2 separate regions of the Homo sapiens genome follow, and region 1 is linked to region 2. Evidence: promoter capture Hi-C in 16 types of primary human blood cells and fetal thymus (Javierre and others, 2016). All regions are on one chromosome and are shown on one strand. The core of a region is centred on a gene start or on the middle of the fragment in contact, and the rest is flanking DNA. Distances in the headings are between cores, read along the strand shown.

Region 1 (2,813 bases), core at 189-2,688, 530 kb after region 2:
CAGTATTTCCCTCGTGAAAGAGACACGGTTTGCCTTTGTAAAATACACTATTTGTCATGCAGAAACACATTCCCGGCATCACACCTCACAGCGTGTGCACTCAGTGGTTGTGGTTAATGGGAGAGAGCATCACATTTTCTGATATGTCTCCTTTGCAAATTAAACCTCATTGTCTCAGGACGACATTCCTCTGACTGTAGACTGAGATAGCTACTCAGAAGAACGGCAAATAGGAGAAAATGGAACAGCACCTGTTCACTATGTATATTAATTTCATGGTGCTGCTTTGAATTTCAAAAGCTATATCAGAGAGTCATAATATGATGTGACAGTCTTTACCAAAATGTCAGAGTTGAAAGAGATTGGCAGGGTTTTTTAGTAAGGAGAAAGCAATACCAAGTCACTGTGTAGTATACTCTCTTAATGAAGGGAATCTCCGTATTTTCTCTCCTCTTTTTTAATTCAGTGACTGGTCTGATTGGGAAGAACACCCTGCCTCTGCAGTCTGCTTATTTTGTGAAAAGCAAGCAGAAACAATTGAGAAGTTGTATGTCCACATGGAGGTAAGATACCTGTATTTATTTGAATTTTGTTTTATTCTGACAGGGGAAAGCTAGTAATTGTTGCACCCTCATCTGCTTTTACTTCAGTTTCCCAATCATTATTCCAACCAGAAGAGACAGGCCAGGTCTGTCAGGGAGAACCAGAGCTCAGGGCAATTTAGTTAGTACAGTTGACTGGACCCGAGTGAGCTGTTTGTTAGTGTGAGATTTCTCAGACCACTGATGCCATCTCACCTTTGAGATGCTTACAAGATCATTCTAGCTCAGCAGGTGGGACAGGTTCTGAGTCTTTTTTCCAGTGCTTCTTGTGCTGGTGAATAGGAGAGCAAGAAGGGAGAACATTGCCATTTACAAAGGTCCCGGAGGAATAGGGAAAAAGGAGGGTGGGTAGAGAGGAGCTAGGGCATGATCCTACAGTTCCTTCAGGTGCCAGGATTTAGAGAGAAGAAACTAGGGAGCATTCCTAGTGTGGGCTTTCCCTTCTGGATGCCATTTTTATGTTATAGTGAAGCTTGGAGCTAGCAGTTCTAAACCTTTTTCACCCCAGTATACCTGAGAGAGGACACACACCCTGCACCTCTGATCCTTAGCTGCACAAGGCGGATAGGGAAGGGGAACATGTAATGATTCATGATAGTATCACAGCTTGTGGGCAGAGGGGTGATTATAATAGAAAAATATTACTGGATGATTCTGATATCTCTCCGTCCCCTCCCTGCAGCCACCTCTGCCAATAGTGGACCATATTCTCTACTTTCACCCACTTTCACCTCACCCTTATTCAGAAATACTGTTCTTAGTTTAGTAAAATAAGGGCCTAGAAAGCGCTCAAAAGACCATAAACATTTTCCTTGATTTTAGTTTCTCTGAAAAAGGTTCCCACTAGTATGTGTGTATAATTTCCTGTGTTTAGATTTAATTCATAATATCTTAATGTCTTTGTATTGAAGGCAGCCTTAGTATGCCTATCCTGTGTAAGGATTACCTTTTCGGCATCCTTGACAGGTGTCCTTAACCTCTGCTGGGTCACTTTCAGTGATAACATCACGAATTCCTAATCATCCTTCATATGGTGCTACACTAAATGCCATCCCAGTGAGTTAAATGGTCTTTATCATCTGTGAGATTGTAGGTTAAAACATTTACACAGACAATTGCAGGTGTCAAACAAACACGCAAAAAATAAGTGCATTGTAAAAATCAAAAGAAAGCGTGATTTATAGGAAGGTGTGAGTGAAGAGAAGCTTTGAGGTTTAAACAGTGTATTTGACAGCATAAAATGAAAAGCAGAATTTGTAAAAATTACCTATGTGGGGCAAAGAACCTATATCCATAATTCTAGTCCAAATGCACAGTACAATAGAAACATATCTTACCTACACTTTTATCACACTGCAGAATGCATACATAGACTTCTACATTTTTAGAAGGCTACAAAATGGATAACATTGTAAATTATAAAAACTATAGATATAAGCTATGAGCAATTATAATGTTGTTGCTGTTCTTTGATATGGAGTCTCGCTGTGTCACCCAGGCTGGAGTGCAGTGTCACGATCTCAGCTCACTGCAACCTCTGCCTGCTAGGTTCAAGCGATTCTCGTGCCTCAGCCTTCTGAGTAGCTGGGATTACAGGCACCCACCACCACACCCAGCCAATTTTTGTATTTTTAGTAGAGACGGGGTTTTGCCATGTTGGCCAGGCTGGTCTCAAACTCCTGACCTCGGGTGATCCGCCCACCTCGGTCTCCCAAAGTGCTGGGATTATAGGCGTGAGCCACCGCGCCCGGCCCAATTATAATGGTTTAACTGATTGACATGACTTGTTTGGACTATGCTGTAAAAAAGTTGGGTATGGAGGGAAGTAGTTAGACTTGGAAGACTTCAAAAGCAGAAGATACCGAACTCAGACTGAGTTTCTAAACTACTCAAACTCCTGTGAATAAGTTGTTTATAACTTCAGCCTGAAAGATTAAATAATTCATATGCTTACAGATGTATTCATTCCTTTTTTAGGATGCACACGAATTTGATCTTCTCAAAATAAAGTCAGAACTTGGTAAGTTTGATTCAGAGGTTTTTTTCTGTGATGCTTCATTTTTTATAAACCATCCTGTAAGCTATGCCTATGTTCAGTAGCTATGATTGGAGAGTGCACCACCAAAACATGTCTCTCTATAGATGGTCTTGACAGAACTCTCTGTGAAGCAGTGATGCTCAACCATAATAGTCAAATATGGTTTTTGGTTT
Region 2 (2,700 bases), core at 198-2,697:
TTGGATACAGGTTTATGTGGAAATAACCATAGATGGCAATGCTGAGATGTATCTAGAACAGAAACTGGTCATTCTTTTTTAACATTCTTGTAACCGAACAGAATCTGTCCTGCTCTCATAATTTGAGCCCAGAAAAGAGCTTACACAACCACAAGTGCATTCAAACAGATTCAATGCAGCATTCTTTCAAAAACATCTTGCTAAATTAATGTCGAATGCAATATGGACACTACAAGGGCCTTGATCTTCTTTAGGAAAAACAAGGACACAAAGAATCAATGAAACCTGAAAACACTGAAGACTAAGAAGAGCAGTCTCCAAATAAGAAAACTATTTTTGAGCTGCAACTAAAGACAGACCATGATATCTTCTGGCTGGCCTTACATAGTTGAAGGTTGTTTTCAAGATGATAACTCTTTTTTTTTTTTTTTTGAGTCAGAGTCTCACTCTGTCACCCAGGCTGATGGAGTGCAATGGAGCGATCTTGGTTCACTGCAACCTCCACCTCCCAGGTTCAAGTGATTCTCCTGCCTCAGCCTCCCAAGTAGCTGAGATTACAGGCACCCCCCCACCACGCCTGGCTAATTTTTGTATTTTTAGTAAAGACAGGGTTTCACCATGTTGGCCAGGCTAGTCTCAAACTCCTGACCTCAAGTGATCTGCCCGCTCCAGGCTCCCAAAGTGCTGGGATTACAGGCATGAGCCATTGCTCCCAGCTTCATTATTTTTTTTTATTTTTTATTTTTTCTGAAATCACCAGCAAGCATTGAACACTGGGCTTAATTATATATACCAAGGCTCCCTCAAGTTGTTATGTATATTTGAGGAATATACATACCCTATTAAAAAAAAATCACCCTGTAATGATCCTGGTCAAAAATCAGTCTGTTAACATGAGTGGAAGTAAAACAATAATGGTTCTATTTTCATTCACAGAAAATAAATCCTTCCAATCTCCAAGTTGTACTTGGATAAGCCCAAGAGAAAAGATATTTTCAGGTCATTACGTATTCAACTCAAATAGGTCAATCATTTTAATAAATCAAAGAGGAGCATTAAGATGCAGTAATAGTAAATGAATACTAAAAACCTGCATAGTTAACATACCAAATGAAATAACTTATAAATCTCTAGAAAGGGACCCTATGCCAATGAATTTTAAAACAATTTGTTTTCCAAATATTACTGTTTTCTATGCAACCAGATCTGTACCATCAATTTTCTGGAATAATATACTCTATCTGCTATAGCAGATTAACAAAATTGGATCCAACAGTTTCTTAGCAACTGCAGATGCTTTTAAAATCCTTTGGCTATACTCTTTATGATATAGGACAATGGTCTCAAGTTTTTAAGAGTAGTGACGTTCAAGTCAATGTTTCATGAAGTTTAACCTAAATTTATTATGATTCATAGCTTCAACTCAGAGTTCTAGAAATTTTGAGTTGTTACAGTTCCAAATTCTGAAAGGTTGCCTCATCGCTGGAAATATGTGTAATGTTGGAGCAATGCTAGATTATAAAATTTATCGTTAATTAATAATGAAACACACAAAGGTAAGGTGACTTTTCTTAGAGACCAATTTAAAGAATTTGTTGTAACCTCATTCAATGCCAAAGTGTCAATTACTTTCTATAGATGTTTATTGATTTAGACATTTGGTTTCACATGGTGTCACTGGTAAATTGCCTTTCTTCATTTGTACACTTCAAGGTACAGCGAGGAGCTGTATAGTAGATGTGGCTTCTCTTTTCCTCACTTACCTAGGTTTTGCCACATGCTGAAAATTTCACAACCCATTGTTACCCGCATGTCACCATACCTGAAATAGAACAAAAAACCAAACCTGATACAATGCCTCCAGAACAAGGAAGTATTTGTGTGTCTTTAGGATACAATCTATCATTCTGAATTACAAGGCAAGGAGTTTTTAATTAAAGACATTTAATATACATGTCACGATGCCTCTAAGTCAAATTCTGGTGTAAACCTTTTAGTAAAAGAGATCTGTTTCATAATTTTTTGCATCTATAGAAATTTTGAATCCTGAAAGAGCCAGGTCAAAACAATGTGCAAACATGTTTGAAATATCAAAACATCCAGAAAAGACTGCTTCTTGACCCCTTGGTCACTGGTTCTTCACTGTGTGATTTCCAGTTATGCGCATTCTGATTTATGAATCATTTGAACTAAATACTCTTTAAGAGGCAACATTTCTCACCTGATTATACACTGATACTTACTTTTCTAACACCTTTTTCTTCTTGGAAGGTGTGAACATCTCCAACTGCAGACACAACTGGTTTATAAAAATGACTGCGAGGTAAAAGTAGGAATCCCAGATCTAAAACAAGAACAAGATATATCAATACTATGGTGTTACAAGCATATTGACAGGTGAAGTGACATAGTATTTTGGATTTGCTTCAAAAGTGGTTGAGGGTATAGTTGAAGTAAGACTGACCATGAGTTGATAATAGTTGAAGCTGGATATGGGTACCTCATGGGGGTTCATTATACTATTCTCTCTACTTGTACATATGCTTAAAATTTTCTAAAGTGAAGAAGTAACTAAATAAATAAGTACTATTATTATCTAGGTGTATATTGCTCCAAAGCTGTATTCCAGGTTTCACGAGCTTTTTGGTATATGCTAAAAGACAGATGCGTGGTTTCTCTTGTAATATGTCTGAGTATCTC

The links. Contacts are between HindIII fragments. The CHiCAGO score rates a contact against its expected background, and 5 or more counts as called.
Region 1: a fragment that was not itself captured here is called in contact with the fragment with the promoter of DOCK4-AS1 in region 2 in 1 of 17 cell types (M1 macrophages); the score reaches 5.4 in M1 macrophages.

Annotation. Positions count from the first base shown.
Region 1 is chr7:112,337,264-112,340,076 of GRCh38, forward strand. It overlaps ZNF277 (zinc finger protein 277), which reads left to right. Exons shown (of 12, transcript NM_021994.3): 9 at 467-563; 10 at 2,580-2,622. All of the region lies in intron 2 of ZNF277-AS1 (ZNF277 antisense RNA 1), which reads right to left. Among named protein-coding and RNA genes, the nearest start is that of ZNF277-AS1, 12 kb to the right of the region's middle. The HindIII fragment of the contact is 733 bases long and covers 1,073-1,805 here.
Region 2 is chr7:111,807,058-111,809,757 of GRCh38, forward strand. It overlaps DOCK4-AS1 (DOCK4 antisense RNA 1), which reads left to right and starts at 1,448. Exons shown (of 2, transcript NR_103806.1): 1 at 1,448-1,556. DOCK4 (dedicator of cytokinesis 4) reads right to left here. Exons shown (of 53, transcript NM_001363540.2): 29 at 2,244-2,344; 30 at 1,764-1,822. The HindIII fragment of the contact is 9,376 bases long and covers 1-2,700 here.